Regions from separate parts of the Homo sapiens genome. Here all the other regions are linked to region 1. Evidence: promoter capture Hi-C in 16 types of primary human blood cells and fetal thymus (Javierre and others, 2016). All regions are on one chromosome and are shown on one strand. The core of a region is centred on a gene start or on the middle of the fragment in contact, and the rest is flanking DNA. Distances in the headings are between cores, read along the strand shown.

What was found. The method cuts DNA at HindIII sites, captures the fragments that hold promoters and counts their contacts. A CHiCAGO score of 5 or more calls a contact.
Region 2: a contact is called between the fragment with the promoter of TMEM168 here and the fragment with the promoter of THAP5 in region 1, in 9 of 17 cell types (naive CD8 T cells, total CD4 T cells, non-activated CD4 T cells and 6 more). The highest score is 34.9, in naive CD8 T cells.
Region 3: a fragment that was not itself captured here is called in contact with the fragment with the promoter of THAP5 in region 1 in 3 of 17 cell types (total CD4 T cells, activated CD4 T cells and fetal thymus); the score reaches 9.7 in total CD4 T cells.
Region 4: a contact is called between a fragment that was not itself captured here and the fragment with the promoter of THAP5 in region 1, in 3 of 17 cell types (M2 macrophages, M0 macrophages and activated CD4 T cells). The highest score is 17.9, in M2 macrophages.
Region 5: the fragment with the promoter of LSMEM1 here is called in contact with the fragment with the promoter of THAP5 in region 1 in 8 of 17 cell types (total CD4 T cells, activated CD4 T cells, M2 macrophages and 5 more); the score reaches 17.8 in total CD4 T cells.
Region 6: a contact is called between a fragment that was not itself captured here and the fragment with the promoter of THAP5 in region 1, in 11 of 17 cell types (total CD4 T cells, M2 macrophages, naive CD4 T cells and 8 more). The highest score is 25.2, in total CD4 T cells.
Region 7: a fragment that was not itself captured here is called in contact with the fragment with the promoter of THAP5 in region 1 in 9 of 17 cell types (fetal thymus, total CD4 T cells, non-activated CD4 T cells and 6 more); the score reaches 26.5 in fetal thymus.

Annotation. Positions count from the first base shown.
Region 1 is chr7:108,567,548-108,571,462 of GRCh38, reverse strand. THAP5 (THAP domain containing 5) reads left to right here and starts at 1,757. Exons shown (of 3, transcript NM_001130475.3): 1 at 1,757-1,973. The coding sequence starts at 1,894. DNAJB9 (DnaJ heat shock protein family (Hsp40) member B9) reads right to left here and starts at 1,589. Exons shown (of 3, transcript NM_012328.3): 1 at 1,360-1,589. RefSeq lists enhancers at 1,434-2,161, 1,695-2,174. The HindIII fragment of the contact is 6,219 bases long and covers 1-2,700 here.
Region 2 is chr7:112,788,765-112,792,679 of GRCh38, reverse strand. TMEM168 (transmembrane protein 168) reads left to right here and starts at 2,287. Exons shown (of 5, transcript NM_022484.6): 1 at 2,287-2,520. RefSeq lists an enhancer at 1,899-2,028. The HindIII fragment of the contact is 5,754 bases long and covers 1,166-3,915 here.
Region 3 is chr7:112,770,335-112,774,249 of GRCh38, reverse strand. TMEM168 (transmembrane protein 168) reads left to right here. Exons shown (of 5, transcript NM_022484.6): 4 at 1,195-1,469. Among named protein-coding and RNA genes, the nearest start is that of TMEM168, 18 kb to the left of the region's middle. The HindIII fragment of the contact is 1,873 bases long and covers 1,373-3,245 here.
Region 4 is chr7:112,496,728-112,500,642 of GRCh38, reverse strand. No RefSeq gene overlaps it. Among named protein-coding and RNA genes, the nearest start is that of LSMEM1, 18 kb to the right of the region's middle. RefSeq lists a silencer at 3,718-3,915. The HindIII fragment of the contact is 1,751 bases long and covers 829-2,579 here.
Region 5 is chr7:112,478,773-112,482,687 of GRCh38, reverse strand. LSMEM1 (leucine rich single-pass membrane protein 1) reads right to left here and starts at 1,697. Exons shown (of 4, transcript NM_182597.3): 1 at 1,342-1,697. The HindIII fragment of the contact is 7,612 bases long and covers 1-3,915 here.
Region 6 is chr7:112,461,982-112,465,896 of GRCh38, reverse strand. IFRD1 (interferon related developmental regulator 1) reads right to left here. Exons shown (of 12, transcript NM_001550.4): 7 at 3,718-3,896; 8 at 3,519-3,627. Among named protein-coding and RNA genes, the nearest start is that of IFRD1, 13 kb to the right of the region's middle. The HindIII fragment of the contact is 1,655 bases long and covers 1,838-3,492 here.
Region 7 is chr7:112,437,775-112,441,689 of GRCh38, reverse strand. It overlaps LOC105375457 (a long non-coding RNA gene), which reads left to right. Exons shown (of 3, transcript XR_001745325.2): 2 at 1-172. It also overlaps a transcript of IFRD1 not described here. Among named protein-coding and RNA genes, the nearest start is that of IFRD1, 11 kb to the left of the region's middle. The HindIII fragment of the contact is 9,318 bases long and covers 1-3,915 here.

The DNA of each region.
Region 1 (3,915 bases), core at 508-3,007:
TTATCAATAACTGACTTTTAACCAGTTTATATTGAAGATTCATCATATGCAAGCATTGTAAGAAAAAAAAAGAAAACCAAATAATATAAGATCCCAACTTTCCTTTCAAGACTTCATATCCTGAAAGTAATAATGTATTTAACTTCACAGAAAAAAAAAACATTAAAAAAAAAAGGTGGCGCACCAAGGTAAATAGCCCAGTATATCTAAATTAGTATTATTAATCTCGCTCCAAAAATTCAGCTTTCATTTCAGCAGGTGAGCCAAGGACTGCAAATAGAGAATCTTAATATCACAATACTAATACTGACAATACAATAGAATGTTGTCTTTTTCCCAAATGTAAGATCCCAAATGTTTAACCAGGAAGCATGGCTAAATATTGTTTAAAACTCATGATGAACAGAATTTAAGATTTCTGCTAAAGCTGCCAGAAAAATGAACTTTGATAGTTTGTACTGTGGTTAAGGCAGATTCTTACTTTCACAAACTCAGTAGTTAAAATATTTCTTTTACCTTTAAACCATTAAAGAAATGTTAACTTAGAATTCTTGACAATATGTATTCAATGACTTGAGATTCAAAACGAAGGGATGGATCCTGTTTTTTGAATACGGGACCACCAGAGTCCTTAGTAACCTATAATGCCATAATAAGGCTGACGAAAAACACTACGGTTTGTGGAAATTGCCTGGCTTCCTCTCCAGCGGCCTTTCCTGAGAGTAATTAGCAGGCAGGTAGATTACTTATTTCCAGAGAGTTACTCGTAGTCACGGGTACCAAGAATCAAGAACCACTTCTCGGTTTAAGGAACACAACAGTGTGTCCCATGGACGCTGCGTCAACTGCAGGTTGCTCCCTAGTCAAAGGGCGGATCTAAAACTGACAGGGAGGCGCCTCACTGGTTCAGCAGACGTTATTCCACGGTCTCAAGGTGGACATCTAATGATTTTTTTTTAGCAGACTAGTTTTGTATTGTACAGACTTCTCATCCCCAAGACGGCCCCGCCAGCCAGCAGCCCGTGCCTTATTCCCCAGCCTCGGTGGGCGGCTGGGCTAGACCCTCCAACCTTCACCTAAAGGCGACTGGCACTTTCCCTGCCCGCCCAGGCCCCGCCGCAGAAGCTGCCCGAGACCCGGGCTCTAATCCGGCGCCCGTGAAAGCCGGCGCCACAACCCAAAACACGATTCTGTGATGCGGCTGTCTCCGTTCTTCCATTCTCTCGGCCAAAAACATGCAGCCCATTGTCCCTGCGGCGACCGTGGCGGACACCGAGGCCAAGTCAGCTCACAAAGACAGGCCTGGGCTACGGGGACCCTCCGAACTCCCCTCCCCACGACCCCGGCCTCGTCCCTCACCTGCACCCTCCGACTACTGCTGCTCCTCCACAGAGCTGAGGCGCTGGCGACCCTGACGATCGGCTCGGGTCGGCAGCTTGGGCCCGGCCCCTCACCGCGGCCTCCCGGAGCTGGCACGCACCCTAATCTCGGTCGTACACCGACCTAGCGCTCCTCCTTCCCCGCCGGCGCCCAGTCCCCTCTCAGCCAGCTCCTCACAGGCAGGAGGTAGCCGCTGGCGCCACCACCTCAGAAGACCTACACGAAACGCTTCCCCATTGGCTTCTGCCTCCCCACGTGATCCCGGCGCCCTACGCGCACGTGGAAAACTGTTGTTGCTGCTAGGGCTGTGCGCCACTTCCGGCTTCAACCCCCGAAAAGGCGGTGCTTAAACCGGAGGAGGCGGAAGTGAGTCGACAGACGAGGCGGCTTTCCCGGCAGAATGCTAGCGCAGGCGCAGGGGCTCGAGAGGCCTGGACCTGTGGCGCATCCTCAGTGAGGAGGGCCGCCCTGCATCCGTCGCCGGCCCCGGTCTCCAGGGGCCTCACCCGAGTCATGCCCCGCTATTGCGCAGCGATTTGTTGTAAGAACCGCCGGGGACGAAACAATAAAGACCGGAAGCTGAGTTTTTATCCGTAAGTTGTTTCTGGAGCAGAAGCGTCAGCCTCGCCGTGAGGCCTTGGACCTGTGGCCTTTGGGCTTGGGTGTCTCCTGTCCGCTCTGCCAGTGAGTCCTCAGCTCTCCGTACGTGGCCCGTCGCCCGCGGCAAGACGGAGGGAAGGCGCTAGTTCAGTTTAGCTAGCAATGCCCTTCTTGCGCGAGGACTGCTGGCTGGTGGCGAGGCCCAGGAGCCTGTTTGGGTGTTAACAGTTAAAACAGTAAAGTTTGCGCGGGCTTCTGTGGTTTTCAGTCTTTTCCCCACTTCACGTGATCTCATTTCATTGAACAACATTAACCACCATTTAAGATACGTGAAACCTGCGAAGTGGAAAGGTGCACGCAAAGTTAATTTACACCCCCCGCGAGGTAGGTCGCATAGGTATAATTTCATCCCACTTTTCTCCTGAGGAAACTGAGGCCCGGAATGATTAGGTAACCGACCTTGAAAGTTTAGTGTCAGAGCCAGAATTATAAACTAGTCTTCTGCTTAGGGCTGTAGATACTCTGCGGAGAACAAGGTTTTATTCTGTTACTCTGAATTACTAGAGCCACGATATATTTCCATCAAACTACTGAAGCACTGATTTTTATTCAGAAGTACAGACAAGCAGTGTCGTATAATAATTAGGGGTCCAGGCTTCAATGCTAGATCCTGGTTCCACTATTCTGTAGCTTAATGACCTCTTGGAAAGTATTTAAGCTTTGGTGTCTCACATATCTCATCTGTAACATGGAGATGTTAATAGTACTCACATGATTAATAACACATGAAAAGCAACATATTTAAAATACTGCATTTCCATTTTTTCTTGTATTTAAAAACAATTCATTTAGATCTAACCTGGTTCAGATTTTCAGCAGTTGTTTTGTGCTCATTTTACTTTAGACCTGAAGGACTTATTCATTAATGATTCGGCTGCTTTCCAGTATTTTAATTAATGGAAAAAAAATTGATAACCCCACCAGGCGCGGTGGCTCACGCCTGTAATCCCAGCACTTTGGGAGGCTGAGGCGGGCAGATCACCTGAGGTCGGCAGTCTGAGACCAGCCTGACCAACATGGAGAAACCCCGTCTGTACTAAAAATACAAAATTAGCTGCGCGTGGCGGCGCATGCCTGTGATCTCAGCTGCTCGGGAGGCTGAGGCAGGTGAATCGCTTGAACCTGGGAGGTGGAGGTTGAGGTGAGCCGAGATCACACCATTGCACCACAGCCTGAGCAACAAGAGCGAAACTCCGTCTCAAAAGAAAAAAAAACTGATAACCCCAAGTAATTCACAATCCATGGCAATATTTCCAGGATTGTCTCCCTTGAAGCCCAGCCTCAAGATGCAAAGAGATGTTTGGGGGAGGAAAACAATCTAATCCACTTTCAGTTTATAGGGAAATACTACTGTACTAATGGCTCTATCTCTGAGAATGTTTGTAGCAAAAGATCATGTTGAACTTGATTTAACCCCGTATTTCCCAGATTTATTTGGCCTTTGATATTGGAGATGGGGTATAACCCCACACTGAAATTTTTAACTAAACTTTGTGGACCTTACAGTAACTTTTTAGGAAGGAAAAAATAATGCAAGTGAATTGTAAAGATTTTTTTCACTGAAAATGTGAATTTAGTAAAAGTTGTATTATTTCTAGGGTTTTTAAAAAATTTTCTTGTGTAATCCACAAAATAAAAATTGAATTAGTTTTATTCTCCAGTAGCGTCAAACTTGAATTGAATTTGCTCATGTTAACACTACAGCAAACTGTAGTTTAAATGTATATGAATTTGGGAATTCAGTTAATATAGTGTCCAGTTTGTACTGTGATTATCTTATGCCTTTTGGGGAATTACATAAGACAATGAAACAAAATTATCAAATGAATTGAACCAATATAAAGACATAATTTATTCAGGAAACATGATCAAGAT
Region 2 (3,915 bases), core at 1,038-3,537, 4.2 Mb before region 1:
TTTGAACATCTTGTTTCCACAATGAAGAATTCTTTCTAATCCTTTATGCTAACTAAGGTACATCTAGTGCAGATTTACATGGTGATACTGGAAGCATCTGTGCATTCAACTCTGCAGTGAACATTTTTGATTAGTCTTTCAAATGCTAATTACCCACCCTGGGCTGTGCAGATTAACTTTCAAACATACACACATCTCACTGAAGTATTCTAAAGTATAAGGACAAGATAACAAGCATCAAAAATGGTTTTAAAGTCATAAGGCAGAAGACCATGTTAGAGGAAGATGATGAAAAACCACTGATTTAGTGAGCTGGTCTTAGTGCTAAGCAACTGAATGCAGCTGTAGCTAATTTAAGCAGAAAGTAAGTTTACTAGAGGACGCTAAGTAGTTCAAAGGATAGCTGGAGATTGAGGCTTGCACCTACATGGCCAGAATCTACCTTGGCTGTTACCGGTGGAAGGTGTCCAGGTTCTTGGCATCTTGAACAAGGAATTAGACAAAACGCACAAACAAAGCAAGGAAGGAATGAAGCAACAAAAGCAGAGATTTATTGAAAATGAAAGTACACTCCACAGGGTGTGAAGAGCCGGAACATGGGGCTCAAGAGCGGGGCGGCCGGGTTATAGAATTTTCTGGGGTATAAACACCCTCTAGAGGTTTCCCATTGGCCACTTGGTGTACACCCCACGCAAATATAGTGGCCCACAATCAGTCTGATAGCGGAAAGCAACCAATCAGAGCCTGAAGCGAAGTTACAAAGGTTACACCCTATGCAAACATTTAATTAGTTATGGAAAGCAACCAATCCGAGGTACTTTCAATTTTCCGTCTGCCACGCAGAAAAGGGCGGTGGTGGGGGAGGGGGCCGGGTCCCTTTGTTACTTAGCTGTGGAAAGTTGGGGCTTTCCTTTTGATTTAGTTCTAGAAAGTCAGCATGAATCAGCCGTAAGTTCCTTGCCTCCAGACCCTATTGTCCTGCCTCACAGCTATGTAGTACAGAGTCTGTCACAGGCTACCCAGAAATGTACACAGAGACTGTTAACAGGCTACAGAACAGATTGGGAAAGGGCTCTGGGGTTGTGACCCTCACCAAGCACAGGCATCTTGCATCTCTGACATGTTAATGGTGGATGCCAGCACTCTCACTACTGCCTCGGAAGCTTACCTTGCTGTTAGGGATGGGTTCTCGATCTCTACACTTGCTATACTCCTACAGGTGACCTGGGAGTGTAGCTTTCTGTGCCTTTTTTGACTCATGGCTTCCAGCGGGTACACATGATTAGTTAAACAAGTGTTCAGCATTTCAGCGGCAGCCATTAGACTCTTAACTCAGGTGGGGAATTCTCCAAATACGGAAGGGGATTCAAATGGGGGGCATAATAAATGTATATAAATGTCCATTAAAGGCAAGTTGAGTTGGAAGTGATGACAATATATTTGAGTAGAAACATCTAGCAGGTAGTTGGAAATGTGGCACTCGTGTTCCCCAGAGAGCTAGTTACAGATTTGGGAAGTTGAGTTGTGATTGCTTTTAAAATCAGGAGTCTAGAGAGAATCTAACTCAAAATTTTCATCCACATATGCAGAATCTCAATCTGAGAGTTGTTCATTCCTATAGATGTGCTGGCCACACCAACCCCCAACATCTATTATGAAAATTAGGAAATTCACACTCTATTATGGAAAATAGGAAAAATATATAGATAATACATGCAAAACAAGTGGGAGGAGAGAACTACGGATCGTGGAGAGCCTATTGCATATTATTATTTTACAAATATTTAAGTGCCAACTATGTGTCAGGCACTATGCTAAGGTGATTTAATGTTGAGCAAAACCCGACATGTCCCTGCATTTGAGGAACTGAAAGGTCTGAGGGAGGGCCTAAGGAGCTTGGGCCTTAGCTGGTTACAAAGCCATATATTATGCCATATATATTAATGAGCAGCAACGCCTCCCGCAGTATTTACAGCCCACGCGTGGCAGTCCTGTCCACCCTGTCCCCGTTCGGTCCAGCCCGAGGCGGTGGCCTAGATGCTTGATGGGCACTGTCAGCCTGATCTTTGGTGGTCTTCCCGCTGTCTGTTCTCAGCTGCTGATTCCAGGTCCCAGGAGTCGACTTTGGCTTGAGGAAGGCAGGCGCCTTAGGTGGGGCAGTTGACACTCGCGCAGCGCCTTGCTCACCTGAGTGTGTGGCGGCGCGCGGGTTTGGGCGGGGAGGGGGCCGGGCCTCGGGAAGGAGGCGCGCCGCGCAGTTTGACCCCGGCGGCGTTCCGTACCGTCGCGGATTTCGGCGGCGGAAACATGGCGGTCGCGGCCGGGCCGGTAACGGAGAAAGTTTACGCCGACACTGGCCTGTATTAGCGCGTATGGCCTCGGGCCCTCGTTCCCCAAGGCGTGCCGCCTCCCTGTTCTCAGTCGCAGGCTGAAGCCTTGTCTGCTCTCCTCCTTTTTGGTTTGGTTTTGGAACTGACTCCGAGGGTTGGGAGAGCGCGTTGGTGGCGACGGCCGAGTCAGGTAGGGAGAAATGGGTGGACGGCAGGGCGGCGAGATCTAGGCATAGACACTGCCAGGGCTCCGCGTGGTCCGGACCCCAAGCTCCGCCCAGTCGGCCTCCCAGGGCCGGGGTAGGATACCTGCCTCTGGAGGAGTTGACAGTGGTGGTTGGAGATTGGAGGGTGTGGGAGCGCCTCTCCGTATTTCGCAAGGGTTCCCCCTCAACTGGGCGCCACGTTGTGGTCGCGTTCTCCGAGGCAGAGGATGGTGGAGAACAGCCAAGCTCCTTGTCGGACCTCCCACATCTCGCTAGAAGGAGGCCGAAAGGGAGAGAAATTGCTGTTGCTGCTCTAGTGCTGAGGAGTTTGATATTCTAGATGACATTTTCCTCGTATGAGATGGCTCAAAGAGTTATCAGTAATTCAGAACTGAAGCACTGAAATTCCCTGTTTTTTCAGTGTAGTTCTTTCAGCCTTGACACTTCTAGATGGGACAGAGTTTCTGAGTGAAAGATAATGCAAGTGATACGGTATGCCTCAAGCCATTCCCTAGAGGTAGGACATGGAGAGAGAATTGGTTTGGAAGAATTTGGGTGAATTAAGTAAAGACTGGTGGAAAGCTGAAATAGAAACCAAACATTCATGGACTCTCCCTTAGTTCTACTAGTTATTAGTTGTGGGATATAGCTAAGTTCTGTATTCTCTTTAGGCATTAGTAAGTGTCCAATGGTGACTATTGTTGTTAAATGTAGTTATTTCTTTATTAGTCTTTATTTTTCAACAAGTATTTATTGAATACCTTCTTGATGCCGGATTTTTGCTAGTCACTGGGTGTACAGTATTGAAGACAAACCCTCAGAGACCTTTTGATCTAGTGGGAAATGCAGACATGAAATAAGTGATGGTATGTAACAGAGAAAGTATGGGGGTCATGTAATGGGGAGGGGGCAGGGATAATCTCTTAAGAAAATGATTTATCTGAGACCTGAAGAGTTGGAATAAGCCAGGTGTGAGCACTGGGGTGGGGCCAGGAGGAGGAAAAGGAGTGTACCTGGCAAGGGAATAGCATTTGTGCAGTTTGTAATTGAAAGGTCAGTAAGGTTGGAAAATAAAGTGTGAGAGGAAAACTGGTAACAGATAAGGCAGGAGAGTTATTCAGGCCCAACACGGAGTGCCTTATAAGGCACTGTAAGGAGTTTTGACTTTATTGCTAAGGGTGATGGGACGCCATTGGAGCATTTTACATAGTGGAGTGCTAAATTTTGGTTTTAAAAAGTACACTTCTTAGAGAGGGCAAGAGTGGATACAGGGAAATGTTCAACATGATGGTGGCCAAAATTGGGATGGTGACCCTGGGGACGAGAAGTAGAAACATTTAAAAAATGTTTAGGAAGAATAGTAGACAGGACTTGGTGAG
Region 3 (3,915 bases), core at 1,060-3,559, 4.2 Mb before region 1:
ACCCACAAAGGTGGTGACATCTGTATAAATCTGTAAATGTTGCTACATTTTGATTTTTATTTTATAGCTAACTACCTTTAAAATAATTCTTTGCCATAAATGAATTCTGATGACAGTTTTCATCACACTTTCCCTGGGGGAGAGGAGAGTGGAAGTAAAGTTTTTTCCCAATTTCAAGTATTTGACATAAAAATCTCCAAATAGACTATTTGTAGGAAATATTTTCCTTCGTTAAAGACTTAATACAAAGTTGAAGGTTTAAGAACTGAAGGAAACAGATTTGGAAATGTCACATAAAGTGAGAAATGACAACCTTGTAGAAAGAATGTGTGGAAATAGTAATATGCACAGTTAGATATTTATTCCATTGTAATTTTTTTAATGTATTCCTTACTCTTTTGTGACTGTAATGAAAAAAAGTTAGTAGAATAGTACTGATGATATATGAAGCAAAATCTAACGTTTTCAAAAATCCCGATAGAAATCCCTTTTCTGGATAGGAATGATGATTTTTTCTTTCTCAATATTAATGGTATTTTGCTAGTTATAAGACTTGCTTTATCATCTTTGTACTAGAGTACCATTTTATATTTGTTCTAGGAGTAAATCTAAGTCTTCAACTAGTGTCCAGTGGTATAAAGCAATGGACCTAAATTTTAATAACTTTTTAAATGCCTATTAATAGATAATTTCTTCTATTATTTATGTACCTTAAGTTAATAAAATTTGAACACAATTTTATTGACTATTTTTCAATACAGAAGTAAATATATAATTAAAATATTGCTTTTTTATTTTGTGTTATAATATTTTTAAAGAAGTTTTTTTAATAGTCCCCACCCAGATGTTCTTGAAACAGTGTAATCCTGCTTTTAAAAAACCTTGTCCAATATTTGTCATGTAAGAAAATACGAATAAGGAACAAAGAGTAATACTATCTACATTTGGAGACATTATCCCAGCTTTTAATTTGATTATTGTTTTAATGATAGTAAATATAATATTTAGAAACCAGGTTTTGATTTTCTAAGCTTAATTCTCAGTACTATAGGAATTTTAGAAAGGGTGATTTTTTACAAAAATCCTGCCACTTAGCAGCAACTATATTATAACTGATTCTTAGATAATCAGTTACAAATGACAGATGAGAATGTGATATAGAATGAGTACTTCTTGTTTTTTCTCCTACTTCAGTCCTGATGGTCAGCCAACACTGCTTCCCCCAGAACATGTACAGGAGTTAAATTTGAGGTCTACTGGCATGCTCAATGCTATCCAAAGATTTTTTGCATATCATATGATTGAGACCTATGGATGTGACTATTCCACAAGTGGACTGTCATTTGATACTCTGCATTCCAAACTAAAAGCTTTCCTCGAACTTCGGACAGTGGATGGACCCAGACATGATACGTATATTTTGTATTACAGTGGGCACACCCATGGTACAGGAGAGTGGGCTCTAGCAGGTAAACTCACCTTTGGCAGTTTCACTATTGTAAAGATACACATGTATATGTAGAAATCTGTACTTCACACACAGTCGTTAAATTTCCAGGATTCTTAGTTTACTGAACTATGCATATGACTCTAATTTGTTTTTCTTTGCTCTAGCATACCTGTTTAGCCTAATTTAATCTCTAATGATAAGATTGGGAATTACGTCTTATAGTGATTAGAAGGAAAAAAATGCTTTGAGACTTACAGTTTCCCTTAAAATATTTTCAGAATTGCTAAACATATTTTTCAGAAGCTGATAAACTCCTTTGACTAGTATCTTTAAGTTTTTAAATGTTATGGATGCAGATTTCAGTAGTCCTTCACATCTGTAGTTTTATTTATGTTATAAAGCTCACCAAAATTTTAAACAGCAGATCATGTAGTATGGTGGGAGTAGCACTTAGGTCAGGAGACCTTGGTTCTGGTCCTAATTTGCCACAGCTGTGTTATTTTAGGCAAGTTAGTTAACTTCTGTTGGCTTCAATTTTCTCATCTGTAAAATAAGGGGGTAATTGTAAATGACCATTGAGTTTTATTCTAAGGTACAAAATTCTGTAGGGATTTTTTTGCATTTGAAAAAACATAAAATAACTTTGGTTTGCATGCATTATGGGAAATAGAAAACTTCTTAGTTATTGCCAAGAGAGAAATGAGATCTCTTTATATCATATATAAATTTGTCAGTCTTTCCAACTATTAATAGAGAGAAAGTCAAGGGCTTTGTTTTATCAACTGTTACTTGTTTAGGACCTATAACAGAGCCCAATACATAGTAGAGGATCCTTAAGTAGCTGATAGATAGATGAAATCATTGAATAAATCATTAAAAAAGGTAATTTTCTTATTTTAGATTAGAAATAGTTATTTTAGATTTAATTACATGATTTTTTTTTCCATAAAAGTGTAGATGTTTTAAACCAAGAATATATAAATAATAAAATAGTCATAAATAAAGTGGAAACATTCAGGATAAAGAAAAAGATAAATAGAAGTAGTATGGAAGGACAGAGGCAGAGTTGCCAATATAAGAACTCCAGAAAGAGACAAACAAAAAGGTTAAGGTAGAGATGATTTTAAACTAGCATGATCTCATTGATTTCATGCCAGATTTGTAACTGAGGTTTTTATCATAAGGAGAAATATTTTTTTGAAATTTTTCTTTTTTGCAAATAAATATTGAATAACTCAGTGGCCTTCTAGTAGAAAGACAAGCTAATATTTATTGGGTACATTTTAAGCATCAGCTTACTGTACTTAGTACCTTACACACATTGTTAATCTTTATGTGAAATCCTTTGAGATAGATACCATCACTTCTGTTATCTTCATTTTTCAAACGATGAAATGGAAATTGAAAGTTGTTATGTAACTTATCTGTGGTCATACCACTATGTGATAGAACCATGATTTAAGACCAGATCTGCCTGATTCCTAAAGTGTATTTTTCCCCCCACTCTACCATGTTGCCTCCAAGGGTGAAAGCCATGATGATAAAGGAATGGCATGTTCTGGTTAAGTGGATATTTTTGTTAACATGGGTCACCCATTTCAAAACATTAGAATGTACAAGACTAAAAGATGCACTGAACATTAAAACTAATTGAATATAGTTTATAAAATCATTTACTTGACCTATAACTTTTTAATTACAACGTAGAAAGCATCTTTTTAACCTTTATGGCTACTTCAGTTTCAGGTAAAGTATAACGTTCTGTGTATTCCAACTCAGAGCACAAGAGAAAGCTTTTAGTCAATTAAAATAGCCTTTACAGAAATAGAATTTTAGATCTAAAAGCAGAGATTGCTGAAACTTACTATAATCCTTATGATAATAAACTCTACCCAGATCAAATGGAAAAAACAGGGCTAATTTTTGGTGGCCATGCATATATCCCTAGTTATTTTAAAGTGTTAGAGTAATTTTAGAAGTAAGCTTTTTATGTGTGTTTATATGAAGGATTTATTACTTAATAGAAACACTTTTCAAAAAGTTTGCATTTTTCTTAAGTAATTTAAAATTCATTAAGTATTTCTTAAAGATAGCTATGGAAATCAATTCTAGATGTTCATTTACTAATACTTATATCAGCTTTTTATTTTTCTAAGAAAAGTAAAAACACTAAGATAAACACACACACACATATATATATCTCTCGCAGTTTTTCTAAATTTTCATTCACTGTTAGGAATAATTTTTGAAGACTTTAAGAACACTAAAATAGAGTTGTATTTTAGGTAAATGTTTAGCAGTTACATTCTAGAATGATGTCTTTATAATTTTTTTGAAGTATGCTACCAGTAAATTGACCGTTACAGAATTCCTCTGTTAGCTAAGATTTGTTCTTGTGTAACTTTGAGGCTTATTATAAGAAGTTTAAAAAAAAGAGAGAGAAAGCATACTGATCTCCCTTCCCT
Region 4 (3,915 bases), core at 455-2,954, 3.9 Mb before region 1:
ACCAAAAACTTCAGCAATGTTACCATTTCCAGATAAACAGTATATTTGAACTGAAGATCATTGTTAGGACTTTTTCCATTTTTATGTTCATTTAGTGTTGAGAACATTAAGATCTAGACACAAATGGGTGACATCAGGCACAGTTTTAATTGTCCTTTCATATTAAGCATGATAAATTCATATCCATACCTATCTATGGCAGTCATTCAAACTCAGAAATGATGTCTTTTCTCTTCCAACAGGTCTGTGAAGCAACTCCCATTCTTTTAGTAGATTTTGAGTTTGCTTTTTTTTTTTTTTACAAGGAATAAACAACAATTCTGTTTCTTTATAGATATAGATTTTCCAATGCTTTGTTTAGTTTGATTACCCAATCCCAGGCAATAGTCTTGAAGGCACAAAACCTGCTTTAGAAATTACAGACTGAGGCAATAGAGAAGAGAAGGGAAAGAGAGGGAAGTCAGAAAGCCAAAAATTATAATAAAATACAGAAATAAACAGCTATGAGGAAGAATTTAATATCATATGCTATAGATCCATGATGTGTTTTTAATTTCTAATCACTCAGATGAACTATGGAAAACCACCATATTCATCCATAAAATATCCTTGACTGCCAAAAGCAGAATCCTGGGCTAAATATCTGACCCAATATGGGTGGACTTTCTTTTCTTAGGTCAAAAATTAAGACCAAAGAATAAGTTGGTATGGAGCCAAAGAAAATAAATAGTCAAAAATCAATCAAGATTCAACTAAAGGTGAGTGCTAAAATAATTGGAAGTAAAACTACACCTAGGAAGCTGATACAAAATGGATGTAGGAAAAGCTTGAAAAAGGAAATGCCAAGTATACTGGGTCAGAAGCCAACCATGAGAAAAGAGTGGGTCTAATTTAGAGCATAACAGTTGCTGGGGGGTTAGCGAACCATCCAGTTATAAGCTGGGTCTCCTAAGATCAAGGCAGCCTAAGCTCTGCCTTCACATCCATGGCTCCTAGATCACCACACTCCATTTTAAACACTTTATTTGCTGAGGAAAAAATGAAAATTGGAAGGCATCCAGAGAAAACTAAAATGACCGTAGAAGGACAGTTTAAAAAAAATGTAAATGAATTAAAGATGGAAAATCTGTTTAAAGGACAACAAATGCAAAGAAGAAAGAATGTAGGAATGAAAGAATGTAGTGCACATTCAAATTTCTAACAAAAAGGATGAGAGCAGGCAGACAAAAAAACTAAACCCGGAGTGGTGGCACAGCCCAGTGGCGCAATGGCTCACACCTGTAATCCCAGCACTTTAGGACGCTGAGGCGGGAGGATCACTTGAGCCCCGGAGTTTGAGACCAGCCTGGGCAACAAAGCAAGACCCCATTCCTACAAAAAAACTTTTAAAAAATTATTCAGGAATGGTGTCACACACCTGTAGTCTCAGCTACTTGGGAGGTTGAGGCAGAAGGATTACTTGAGCCCAGGAGGTCAAGGTTTCAGTGAGCTATGATAGCACCATTTCACTCCAGCCTGGGTGACAGGTCAAGACCCCGTCTCAAAAAAAAACAACAACAAAAAAAGAATTAAACCTGGAGAAACCATAATGCAAAGACGTTCAGGGTCTTGGGCAAAACAAACCAAAAGACCAAGACGGTGTAAATCACAGGGAACATAGCAGAGCTTTATGAAGAAGAGAGGACTTACTGGCTGGGTATTTCTTTTTCTAAACTTCGTAAGTCAGGAATTGAGCTGAACACTGCAGAAAATGTCAGGAACACACAGACTTTCTTGTCTGTCAAATCTCTAAACTAGAGCAGTTTCTTCGGTTGTCAGCCTGTGCAGTTGCAGAGGACACTGTGCTTGGTTTAATATTCTGCTATTGCCATCTTGAAATTATTAAGAATTTATAAACACGGGGCCTGCACTGCATTTTCATTTTGCACTGGGCTCCACAAATCACATAGCTGATCCTGCACTAAATTCAGACTGTAAAGAATTCCACCACAGGCCAGGCGCAGTGGCTCATGCCTGTAATCCCAGCACTTTGGGAGGCCAAGACAGGCAGATCACTTGACGTTAGGAGTTCAAGACCAGCCTGGCCAACATGGTGAAACCCTGTCTCTACTAAAAATACAAAAAAATTAGCCAGGCGTGGTGGCAGGTGCCTATAATCCCAGCTACTGGGGAGGCTGAGGCAGGAGAATAGCTTAAACCCAGTAGACAGAGGTTCCAGTGAGCCGAGATCGCACCACTGCGATCTCCATCTCAAAAAAAAAAAAAAAAAAAAAAAAAAGAATTGCACCACTACCAGCAAAATGTCTCTTTTGTCCTACATCTGAAAACAAAACAAAACAAACAAAAACCAGACAAATTTGAGTAGAGAGTAAAGCAAGAACAAGGACAATCTATTCACCTCCTTTTCCTGCAAGACCCCCTTTCTGTCTCACCTGCTGACTGAGCTCCCCCTCATCATCCTTCCCCAGGACAGCAGCTGCAAAGTCAAGGAGAGTGGACCTTGACTGGACGAGCTGCATCATCAGAGTCCACTAAGCAATGGATTCCTCCACAAAGGTCACTATAAGTTAAGAAAAGCTTTCCCTGGTCAACTGACATCTCTAATCTTTCCAGGTTAAATCATTCTTCTTCATGAAGAATCCACAATCCACCTTTGAGGAGTAAACAGATGCATTTGCAAATAAGAGAAAGCCTAGGAAAATTAGAGGTTTCTTATCCCCAAGCAATTTTAATAAGGAGGAAACTGTAGGAAATACATATGTATATAAATACATTCCTAAAAGCTACTGTTTCTTTACTCATTTATTCAAAAAGCCTTCTGTCTGCCAGACACTGCTAGGCACTAAGGTTTCAAGGATGAAAAAGAGAGACATGGTCTCTACCCTCGTGGTGGTTACAGCCCAGTGGAATGCTGACTGTGAACCAGGAGTTATGCTAAGTGTTTCACAAACACGTGATCTCCTTTCAACCACTATAGGGTCAATGTTATCACCCTCATTTTCAGAGAGGAAGGAACTGAGAAAGAGGTTAAGTTTCCTTCCCAGGCCACACAGCTTTTAAGAATCAGAACTGAGATTCTAATCCAGTTCACCTGACTCCAAAGTCCATCTGGTGCCTGAAAATATTAGGGTAGGACTCCTTGAGGAAGCAAAACCAAAAACATTTTAGAGGGTCTGTTTGAGAAGACTGGATACATGCAGGAGGGATGTTGAAATGAAGGGATTAGAAAGAATATCCCAAAGAGAAGGGACTCTCTGAACAAAGACATCGTGGAAATAGCATGCTATAAAGAACCTACAAAGCAGGATTTGGGAACTATTAAAGATTTTTTACTAGGGAGGGTATAGATTTACATTTTTAAGAAGGTTATTCTAATGGCCTTGTGGAATGAGGACTCGAAAGAGACAAACCCAGAGTCTACGAGACCGGTGGGAAGTCTGTTGTGATCATGTGGACAAAACACAATTATGGGCTTAAGTAGAGCACAGACAGTAGGGATAGGGAGGAAGGGATGGATTTGAGAAATGTTTTAGCAGTTGGAAAGGGACAAATTGACTAGATAGAACATGGTCCCGGGTTAGGAATAGGAGACTGAATTAAGGACAGAGGTTAGTTCTTAAAACAAGCAGTTTACCTCGATGTGAGTCTTGAGGAAAAGCTAAAAGTTAGGGTGAGGTTGTAGGCAGTTCTGTAGAGACATCCAGAGAAACTCTCTGGATGGCTCTGTTATTCTCTCTAAAGGTAGGGTGACCAACTGTCCCAGTTTGCATGGGGCTGAGGGCTTTCCTGGGATAGCAGTTAGCTTATTGTCTGCTCAAGGAGATATCTGCCCTCCCCTGAACCATTCCAGCTCTTATTTTCTGGGCCATAAATTTGGGCACTTAACCATGTCTTCTTTCTTATTTTGCCATTGTG
Region 5 (3,915 bases), core at 448-2,947, 3.9 Mb before region 1:
AAATATTCACTCATGCATAGTCACAGATTTTAAAACAATTCTTTTAGATGTGTTTCATATTTTATCATCCATTTATACTAATATTTGACCAAACAGTAATATGTGACCAGGAAAAAAAGTTTTATGTGTCACATCACAGGACCACTGTTCTGCACACAGCTTCTATTTTAGGTGTGGTAACTGAAGCATGGTTCATTTTTGGATCTCTGACTTAATAGCCTTGAGCCTTAGCTTCCCCTTCAGGAATGTATCTGCTGTTGCTTCAATTTCATACTGAGGCTTAATCAATGTTTACAAAATAGAGACCTAGCTAGAAAATCATGGCCACAAAAACTGACTTTAAGAGTACAGCTAATAAAATCTCCATATTACTGGTCTTGCTATCTACTCAAAAGGTGACTCCAAAAAAAACTAAGACAACAACCTAGTGAGCCATGACGTGCTTTGAAAGAAAATGTCTTCTTTAGAGTGAAGTCACAATGTAAATATATGCTATTCCAATATTTTTTTAATGAGCTGCAACACGCAAATGGAAAAATAAAGAACTAGCAGAGAAAACTGAGTTGGGTGCTGTTCCAGGGCTCCAAGAGCCTGCAAATGACTTGCAAATGACTCATGAGGCTGCTAGTAAAGGGATACAAGATCACATGGCCTTAAAACCAGGCCCCACGGCTGTTTGACACCCAGTAGTTGCTATCTTTGGCATCTCCAAATGAGGGCATCTAGGAACAACCAGCAAGGCTGGAGAAGCCAGTGTTACTAGCAATTCTTCATCACACTAACTTGACCCTCCTTTCAACTCCAGTGTGCAAATTTGCTTATTCACCAAGATTGGCTAAAGCAGCATCCCTTTAACAGAACCCTTTCTTATACCTTGACTGGAAACATGTAAGTAATTTCATTTTCCTCTGGTTTAGATCACTGCTAACAGTTGATTTTTTGTCATTTAAGAATTCTTTGACTATTTACAAATAAATATTCCAACAAATAAAGATAATTGTCTATGAAAAATTGCCTGGTGCTTTATTTTTTAACCAGGCAGGTGCTTGGTATCAAACCACAGAAATAACTCACACCAGTATTGCTTGCCACAAAATCAGAATTGTTATAATAGGGCATAATTCAAAGCTAATAAGCAGTGTTATTGAATGAGTCATGGTAATTTGTTCTTTAATTTCATTTCCCAGTCAATGCCTCTTCACATTCAGGAAGTAATTTTTAAAATCAAGTCTAAATCATTTCTATCAAAAATGAAAAACACAGAGCACATGCAACAAAAACTTCCCAGACTCGAGAATCATAATTCAGTCTCAGTAGAGTAATAGCATGCAAATTACTTACAAAAATGTGAGCTTTGACTGCTAGGTTACCAGAAAAACAAAACAAAACAAAACAAACAAACAAAAACTAATTGTTCAGAAGCAACTACAACAAAACTTTTCTACAAATTCTGTAGTTCTCTCTTTGCCTTTCTTCAGCATACGGGTGCTCCTATGAGACCCATAAGCCCCAGGATGAAACTGTTGGTCTATATTGTGTCAATTTAGCCAAGCAGTGTAAGATTCCAAATCCTGACTTTTTTCATAATGTCTAAGGTTTTTAGTAAATATATTACTAAAACTATGCTTTAAAAAGAAAACAACAAAAAAACACCATGCCCTGATTTAGTTGGTAACTGATGAGGTTTTTATTGGACTGAAGTTACCGTCCTTATCTGGCTGAAGCAACTGTTAGCTGACACCACCTTTCCAGCACTCCTGCCATGGTATGCTTCCATATATAAATATCCTGTAGCAGGCGGAAGCTGCCACTATGATGACTGACTTGCAAACACTCCAGACAAACCAGAGAACTGCAATAAACACGGACAGAATATGATTATGACATCATAACAAGGATGATGGCAGGTCAGACGCCTAGTGCTTCCAGTAGCTACAAAAAGCGATTGTGAGTGGGCGATTTCATGGATACAGACCCACCACAGGTGAAGGAAGCACTCCATCTCATCGGCCGCCTTTCCTTTACAAAGGCTTTGTTCTGTGAGTGTCTGCACATCCTCCTTTCTCAGGAATAACAGCCTTCCATATATGTGGTTCCCTCACATACATGCCAAGGAGCTTCTGCCCTCTGCTGTACATAAAAGATGCTACAGTGATGAGGAGACCAACTATCTCAGCAGGATACTAACAGTGAGGTTGTGAACAACTGTGCAATCCTTTATCATCCTCACTTCCATTGCCATAGCTTGATGGACATTATTCATCTTTGAAACATTTTTCATGTCAGTGAGAAAATAGGTGTTCCACAAAATTTTCTTTGAGACAGAGTCTTGCTGTGTTGCCCAGGCTGGAGCGCAGTGGCATGATCCCAGCCTACTGAGACCTTCCTGCTTCCAGATTCTCCTGCCTCAGCCTCCCAAGTAGCTGGGATTACAGGTATGTGCCACCATAGCTGGCTAATTTCTTTATTTTTAGTAGAGATGGGGTTTCACCATGTTGGTCAGGCTAGTCTTGAACTCCTGACCTCAAGTGATCCACCCACCTCGGCCTCCCAAAGTGCTGGGATTACAAACTTGAGCCACCATGCCCGGCCCAAAATTTTCTTTACACCTATATCCCATACGGACCTCACTCTGCTTTGGGGGAAGAGGAATGTCATTTTTTTTTTCCCTTCACACTACCTAGTCTAAGAGGGAATGTCATTTTTTCAAGCCTCATCTGTACCCAAAGACTAATTCTTGGAGGAAGACAATATAACTAGTAACTTTTCTCAGAAACATACGTTAAAAAGCTATGTCAAATTTCTCTGAATAATGAAAATGTTCATGTTAGCTATTATGCTGTTTTTAAGAAATCTCCCAACTACCTGATCTGCCTTGAGCCATGTATCCTTTGAAGATATAATAGAAGTAACTGCCTCATTTTGGGGCGTTTACTACTTTTCCTCTCCTGTAACTTCTAACTTTGTGGAATATTAACTTCCCCTGAAGGAGGAAGGAAATGGAGACTAAGGAATTTAATTGTTGAGGGATACACTGATTATAAGTGGCAGAGATGAGATGTAAACCCATACCTCGCATTCAAGTCTGAATTGAACTATACACCAGTGAGGGGGATAAGACTGCCTTTAGACCAGTTAGACTTCTGGAAAGCCACTTAAGAACAAAGCAAGACAACCTACTTCATTTTAACTATAACATACCTGCAAGACCACCTTTAAGAAGAGTTTTGGGGCCGAGTGCGGTGGCTCATGCCTGTATTCCCAGCACTTTGGGAGGCCGAGACAGGCAGATTAACTGAGGTCGGAAGTTCGAGACCAGCCTGACCAACAAGGAGAAACCCCATCTCTACTAAAAATACAAAATTAGCCGGGTGTGGTGGCACATGCATGTAATCCCAGCAACTCAGGAGGCTGAGGCAGATTATACCATTGGACTCCAGCCTGGGCAACAAAAACGAAACTTCATCTCAAAAGAAAAAAAAAGAGTTTTGGGTCACAAAAAGAGATATTCTCACATGAAGTGTCTAATCTAGGGACATTCTCAAGTATTTGCTTTTTCTTTCATATATTACATCTCAGGGTATCTAAATTCACTCCCAGGAAATTTAGTACCCATCAAAGAGGAGTCACAGACAATGAATACTTCAAAATGCTTGAGCCTCAAAATAATGAAAGCGGGCAAAATTAATCAAGAATCAAGCAATGAACAACTAGTCTATAACACAACATTTTTCTACTTTCAAGAAAACACAAGCATTCTTACACATTGAACACCCAGCCACCCTTGTCTAGCAGTTACCACAAGTTTCATGAATAAAGTCACCTGCATATAAATTCAACATGCAGATTAACACTCTATACCTTCTTCCTCCCAAAAGCCCAGTAAAAAAGCAGGAGTACAAATTACAAAACCAG
Region 6 (3,915 bases), core at 1,416-3,915, 3.9 Mb before region 1:
ATTCTGAAGCATTAACTATTTTATCAATATTCTAGACTTGGAGGTATATAGAACTCACCTTTTTAAAAAAAATCTGTGTAGCCATCACAACCATACGAGGCAGTTTAATACCATATTTAAGACATAGGTTTTGCAGTCAGAACATCTAGGTTTGAATCACAAGCATCCACCATGTAGATCTATACAACCTCAGGCAGCACTACATTAGCAATCTGTCTCAGGCTCCTCTTATATAACAGTTATTACCACCCACATCTCCTAGGTTTTTTATAGGGAAATGAACTATTAGAAATATATAAAACACAGGACATAAACATCCATTAAGTTATAGATCTTACTGTTATGAACAGCCTGTTTGAACCTAACACAATATAAATACAACAGAATCTAACACAATATAAATACAACAAACTGGTCAGCTGAAGATAATTATTTCATAGCAAAATAACAGTTACCAATTAAATGGTTTCAAAAGTTGAATGGAATTAGGATGAAATGAAACCAAAGAAAATTTCCAGAAAAGTTTAGGCAGACAGGGTGAGATGCTTAAGGTCACAAAAGCTAACCATTCCCCAAGCTATTATTTCTATACAGAAGTCACTGGAACACTCATTATAAACAAAATAAGCTGGGTCTTGGATAGCTAAGTATTAAGAAATAAAAATCATACAAAAGCCTAATATTAAAATAAAACTTGAGGCCAGACACAGTGGCTCTGTATCTATAATCCCAACACTTTGGAAGGAGGAGGGAGGATTGCTTGAGGCCAGAACTCTGAGGCTGCAGTGAGGTATGATCTTGCCACTGCACTCCAGCCTGGGCAACAGAGTGAGACCCTGTCTTTAAAAAGACTTATTTATTTCAATTCCTGCTAATCAAGGCAGAATATCTTTGTCAAGGTATGGAGATATTTTTACACAGAGTCAGTTATTATACAAACAAGGGCAAAAAAACAAGAAGAATGCTAAGTTGCTGCTTCTGAAGTATAAAATCTAGGTGATTTCAGATTTGGCTCCAAGGAGTATATTTGGTCTTTGATTATCTTTTTTCTCGCTGTGCTGTAGCACTTCCCCTGTCCGCTCAGCTGGGGAATGGAATGGGTGAGACCTGGAAAAGGTCTAACTATATTTTGTTAAATTTTCCCAAGTGAGGATTGCACCAGCAATGGCTCCCAAGATCTTAATTCTGCCCACCAAATAATGTCTCTTATATTAAGTTACTCTACAGTTCCTAAAAGGCCACTAGTAGACTACTGCCAAATGCAATACTCAATTCAACCAACATTCCAAGTAACAGCTAACACTTACACTGTACCTATCATGTGTTCTCAAAAACTCTATGAGGTTGTGACTAATAATTTATCCATTTTAATGATAAGGACACCGAGGCATAGAGAAGTTGCCCAATATTATCCAACTAGTAAGAGAGAAAGAGATCCGAAGGTAGGCAGAACAGCTCCAGAGTCTACTATTATCTAATTGGTTATATGGCAAACATCCATTAACCTAGAACTCTCATAAAGGAGTAATAATTACTAATTTCAACTTTGAACACAGTTTATTATTATTATTTAACCAACTCATTCATTAAAATCCAACCTAAAAGTTAGCTCTTCAAAAGTTTTTTTTCTAAGTCTCTCAGGCAGAATTCATGACATCACTAGATTTCAAAGTTAGTAACATCAGAAAGTCAGTTAGCAAAAAGCCTTGAATAATTCAAAACTCATTTGCTGTATGAACCCTATTTTAAATCTGTCTATGTATTTCACTAACGCCCTGGATTTAATTTTTGAACACCCTATAACTATCCCCCAACCAGCACCCACATATAAAAAGCTTATTTTAAAAAAAAAAAAAAAAAGCAAATAAAAACACTAGGTTCTGTTTTGTAACCCAGTTCATTTTTGTCCTTGGATAAAAATTCAAGTCAAATGAAATATGTCTGGATGAGTTCTCCTGGTTATCCTGTGTAATTTATTAAGTTGGAGAAAAGATACGTGGGGTGTGTGTGTGTGTGTGTGTGTGTGTGTGTGTGTGTGTGTGTATATAAATGTGTATATATATGTATATGTATATACATGTATGTATGTGTCTATATATATGTTTATACAAACTTAAACAAATTCAACATGTATAATTTAAACTGCATTATGACTTCATTTTAAAAATGCATTTCCAAGGAAAAAAAAGAAAAGAAACTGCCATTTCTGGCCAGTAGAGGAATGTAAGATTAAAAATTGGGACATCTGGTTTCCATGCGTTGAGGTTAAGAAGCTATTAACTAGCTCAATAAAATTAAATTGATTGCTAAATTTGAGTCCAATTTCTCACATAAGGAGAATTATTAGCTACTGACAACATTAACTTACTTTCCATTCCTACCTACTATCCCTCAAACAAAAGGAGTGTAGGGGAGTTGGAGAGAGCCACTTTACACATAAAAATTTTAAGACTGTAAACTTCCTTCAATACAGGCCTAGAATGGAATATGAATGACTATACATGGCAGAACTGTATTAATCCTGTTTGGAACCGTTCACTGTTAAATAACTTCTTTAAATGCAAAAAAGTTTCAGAATGAAAATATATTCTTTCTCCTTAAATTAAAAAGCATCTAGTAAGTAATTCAAGGTTGGCAATAATATCTACTATTTAGTTACCCATTTCCCATATATTTGAGTTTTCTTATTGGATCCTTCACAGATTCAGTGTGAAGACAGTCAAACCTGCTCCTCATTTCTAAATATCAGCACAGTATCTGAATCACATATCTTAAGAATACATTCTCCCTTCCAATGGTAAGATTTGAGGCATTCCTTTCTCTTAGCAATCCTTAAAATAGAGATGACAAATTAGGGTTACCAAATGACCCAGTTTGCCCGAGATAAAGGATTTCCTGGAACATAAGATGGTAAGTGCTAAACCAAAAACAGGTACAAAGCAAATTGGGTCGACTGATCAAACTATCACAAACTCAAATCCCTTCGAGAGCCAAGCCATGGTAACTAACATCTGTGAGTGGACAAGTGAATGGGTAACTGCAAAGCACATGTCCCAGTCTTAATGAGCAGTGTTTATTTCCATCTTTGGCTTAGAGAAGTTACTGAACCCATCTCATCCCAAACCTATGCTGACTTAATATTTTATTCATTTGTTTGATATTAATTATGAAGCATCACATGCCTTCATTAGCTTGATGTATTGGGTATCTGAGAAATTCAAGCAGTTTCATAAAGATTATATTAGACAAAACTCTCTCCATGAGGATCCCTAAACTTCAGTTCTATAGATAGCAAAAATTAAGTATAATGAACCACAGTCAAACACTGCTGTACCAACCCCTACTGGTTTCTGCTCTCTAAAGTATTACACCACCACTGCCAAGAAGTAGGGAAATAAATCACTGGGTTCTCAAGCTGGCCATGTTCCAAAGTTATTGCCCAATTCTCAATTGCAAGGTAATGATGGAACAATGGGCCTTGTGACACAAGCTTTTTCCTCTGCCAGTTAGATACTTACACTCTCTATTCCTCTGGCCAATTCAAAGAGAAGTGCCAAAGATTCACCAGCAGCTATTCTCATGTTTACATCATCACAAGAGAGGAGGCTTGGAAGCTTATGGAAATGCCTAAAAAATAGTTAGTCATTACTATGTGAATACAACCAATTATGTCCACTAAATGTTGCTTTTATAAAATATGAAACTAAAAATACATACATCTCAAGCTTTTTCTTCACTTCATTGATTGGGCATATGGTCAGCAGTAGTGTCCATGCAAGAAGAGAGCTGATATGAAGCACTGTATTAGGAGTGCTGCAAATAACAGTAGTGTCTTTCTCTTTGAGATAGGATTTAGTGAAGATATTTTCCAAACATTCCAGAGTTGAGTATAGTTCCTAATGCATAAGAATATGA
Region 7 (3,915 bases), core at 518-3,017, 3.9 Mb before region 1:
GATTCTGGACTGTCTTCTGAGCAGAGAATAAAAAGTAGCTATCATCTGCCCACCACAGACATGAAAAAACAAGAAAGACAGTTTGCAGAGAGGAGAGAATGAAACAGGACTGTAGAGAGAAGCAGAGACAAGAAATGGATCTTCCCATCTCGTCATGAGCTTCCACTTCCAGGTAGGCAGAACTACCAGAGACTCAATTGAATTCCTGCCTTAGGCTTCCAGGGAACATCCTGAACTTTTTTTTTTTTTCTGAGATGGTGTCTTGCCTCTCACCCAGACTGGAGTGTAGTGGTGCGATCACAGCTCACTGAGGTCAGGTAACCCTCCCACCACAGCCTCCAAAGCCGCTGGGACTACAGGTGTGCACCACCATGCTCGGCTAATTTTTGTTTTTGTTTTTGTTTTTGTTTTTTTTAAGACAGGATCTCACTCTATTGCCCAGGCTGGAGTGCAGTGGCGTGGTGTTGGCTCACTGCAACCTCCGTCTCCCAGGTTCAAGCAGTTCTTCTGCCTCAGCCTCCCAAGTAGCTGGGATTACAGGCGCACACCACGAACGCCCAGCTAATTTTTGTGTTTTTCGTAAAGACAGGGTTTCACCATGTTGGCCAGGACGGTCTCAAATCTCTTGACCTCATGATCCACCCTCCTCAGCCTCCCACCAAAGTGTTGGGATTACAGGTGTGAGCCACCCTGCCTAGCCTAATTTTTGTATTTTTTGTAGAGACGGGGTTTTGCCATGTTTCCAAGGCTGGTCTGGAACTCCTGGACTCACACAGTCCGCCCACCTTGGCGTCCCAAAGTACTGGGATTACAGGGGTGAGCCATTGCACCCAGCCTGAACTTTTAAAATAAATTGTTTCTTATGCTCAAGTTAGGTCCAGTCAGTTTTTATTTCTTGCAAACTAGGATAGTTTACAGTTTCTCCTTAGCACTCCTCTGTTTTTTTGATTAGTGTCTCTTGGAGTTCCAGAAAACTGTCCAGGCATTTGCAAGTGGGACTTTAAAAGCCTATCTTTTACACTCAGATGAAAGGCAGTAGGAAGTAGGAACAGATTCTCTAACACTTTGGAGGCATGTTAGCACCTTTCTAAATTATGGAGAATGAGTGAACTGCCAAATTTCATTCATCATTACTGATATTTATTGTGAACCAATCCAGCCAAAAGAATTCTGAACAGACACTTTAAAAACCTATGCCAAACTGAATTGACCGTACCAGGCTTATCACATTTAAATATTTATTTAAAATAGTCTTTAAATTATAATTATGTTAATTGTTTTATTAAAATCAAGAGAGAAAACTAACCATTTATCAAACTGCTGAGACTGCTAAAAGATTTATCAGCCTTATATAAATAAGACACACTTAGTAAATATTTTCATTCCATTCAAGAAAGGCTTTTGTGACCGAGTGCCGTGGCTCACACCTGTAATCCCAGCATTTTGGGAGGCCAAGGCAGACAGATCACTTGAGGTCAGGAGTTCGAGACTAGCCTAGCCAACATTGGGAAACCCCATCTCTACTAAAAATACAAAATTAGCTTGGCATGGTGGCGAACGCCTGTAGTCCCAGCTACTCTGGAGGCTGAGGCAGGAGAATTTCTTGAACCCAGGAGGCAGAGGTTGCAGTGAGCCGAGATTGCACCACTGCACTCCAGCCTAGGTGACAGAGCAAGACTGCATCTCAAAAAAAAAAAAATGGCTTTTGAAATTAATTTGTTGCAGACATCATTGATTTCCTGCCGCAGATCCATCTTACTCTCTTGCTTATTCTCAGAACCCCAATTTTGTTCAGATATCCAACCTCCTTCGAGGGGCCATGTGCTTCAGGGGAAGGCTGGACCCCAGCTCCAGGGGTTGGGTCATAATCGATTCCTCTTTTAATTGATTCCTCTTATAATTGATTCCTCTTATAAATGGTTTATTCTTGGGCACAGAACACAGCTCTAGCCAGTGAGGTGTAAGAGTTGAGGGCTTGAGGGAAAGATTTCTCCTTCCCAAGAGAAATACAAATGAACAGATGGTCTTGTCTTTTTCTGGATGTTGTCATTTGTGAGCATAAAGGCAAACAAAGCTAACTACCAAGAATAGCAAAAGAGAAGGGTTAAAGAACATAGATGAGGTTTTTGAGTCACTGAATTAACCAACAGGCACCACCTACCATCCCCTACCCCTAGACCACTTATGTGATTATAATAAATGCTTTTAATATTTTAAAAAAATTAAACTTGAGATTTCTGTGGCTTGGGGCTGAAAGCATCTCAACTGATACTGTTACATCTAACAATCTCTTTAAAATGATGATACCATTTGGCAATTTCTAACAGTCTTATATGCATTCAGAAATAAGTAAAAATAATCCCCGAACTATCCCCCTACTTCCCTTAAAAGTCCCATATGTTCCAAGAAAGAAAATGTCTTTGAAATCCTCACTCTTGTCACCTGCTGTTTTGTACATACAATGTACGAACATAGGGCCCTGCCCACTTCATTCCGCCTCCACAGAATTCTGTCCAAGGACACCCTGTTAAAACTGTATTTGGAGAATTTCCTTCCTTCTATGCCCACTATTATTGTGTATGACTGCTTTTTGGGCTTTTTTCACTCTCTTGTTCTTTACCCATCTTTGGCTTCCAGATTAAGAGTTTTCATTTCCCTTAATGGTCCTTAATAGGGTTGTTTGTTACTGTTCTTGTTGTTGTTGTTGTTGTTATTAATTGGCATCAGAACTTTTTTTAACCGAAACATCTTTCAACGGGAGGAATCCATTTTTCTGTCAACGGTATCCCAGGTGGCTAACTTTCATTATGCTCAGGTCAATGATTCATGAATGGTAGTTTTCCTTCTAAACAAGTGTTGCCATGATGGGTGAGTAATGGTACCTTTGCTATATTCCAAAAACTGAGGGAATAAAACAGACTCCACCCACATGATAATAGGGTTAATTTGACTCTACATATATAGATTGAAGGTTGTTTATTTGTTGGCTTGATTTCCACAGCCTCGTCTTTTTTGGCGAAGGAGGTATCTTCTAGTCTCAAGTTATTTCTATTCACGCATCCATTCAAACAAATTTGCCTTTGTCTCCAGGTTCTGTTTCTTATGATAAATTTTTGGAAACCCTAGGCTGATCAAGGAACTCTCAAAATAGGAAGTGAACCAACAACATTTATACTTATAGCTCTTTATGTGCTTAAGGCAACATTCAGGAATATTCTTTCCCTACCCTTGTTCTCTCAAACTCTGCCTCTTTACCTTGATCTACCTCTCTCCTCACCCCCTGTATTTTTCTCCTCAAAGGTATGCACAATGCTTCAGTGCCATTTTCATAGCCCTATAAGCTAGAAAACCTGCCTACACGTTTGCTTTTAAATGAGGTAGTACACTTTGCCAGCTTCACTATTTTCTTTCTTGTGCTGTTATTACTTTTTTACCCAAAAATTTGGCCCCTTTTTTTATGAAATCAGTAGTAATGATTTAACACTTAGAGAGATACAAGCAATTAAGTAATGTATTCTTTTGAAGCTCTTCAAAGATGACATTCAATAAAATCCCTAGCTTTGATATTTATCCCAAACTCCAGAACCCCATATCTAATCACTGTCTTCTTCATTTACTATCCCACAGACTGGTCATATTTAGCAAATGAAAAACATATCCACTCTACCCCTACGCCACTCTTTACCTGTTTCTTCTTTGGCATTATGCATCATGGTTAATGGCTCTACTATCCATCTCAATATGCAAACCAGAAACCTAACCTCATTCAGCATGCTAAACCATTTCACATCTAAAATATGTCTAGACCCTGTCCTTTCCTCTCCTTCCTACTGAAACTACCAAGTATTACTTAGCCTCTTAGTTCACTGTCCCACCTCCAGTTTTGCCCAGCTCTAAGCTATCAGAATGATCTTC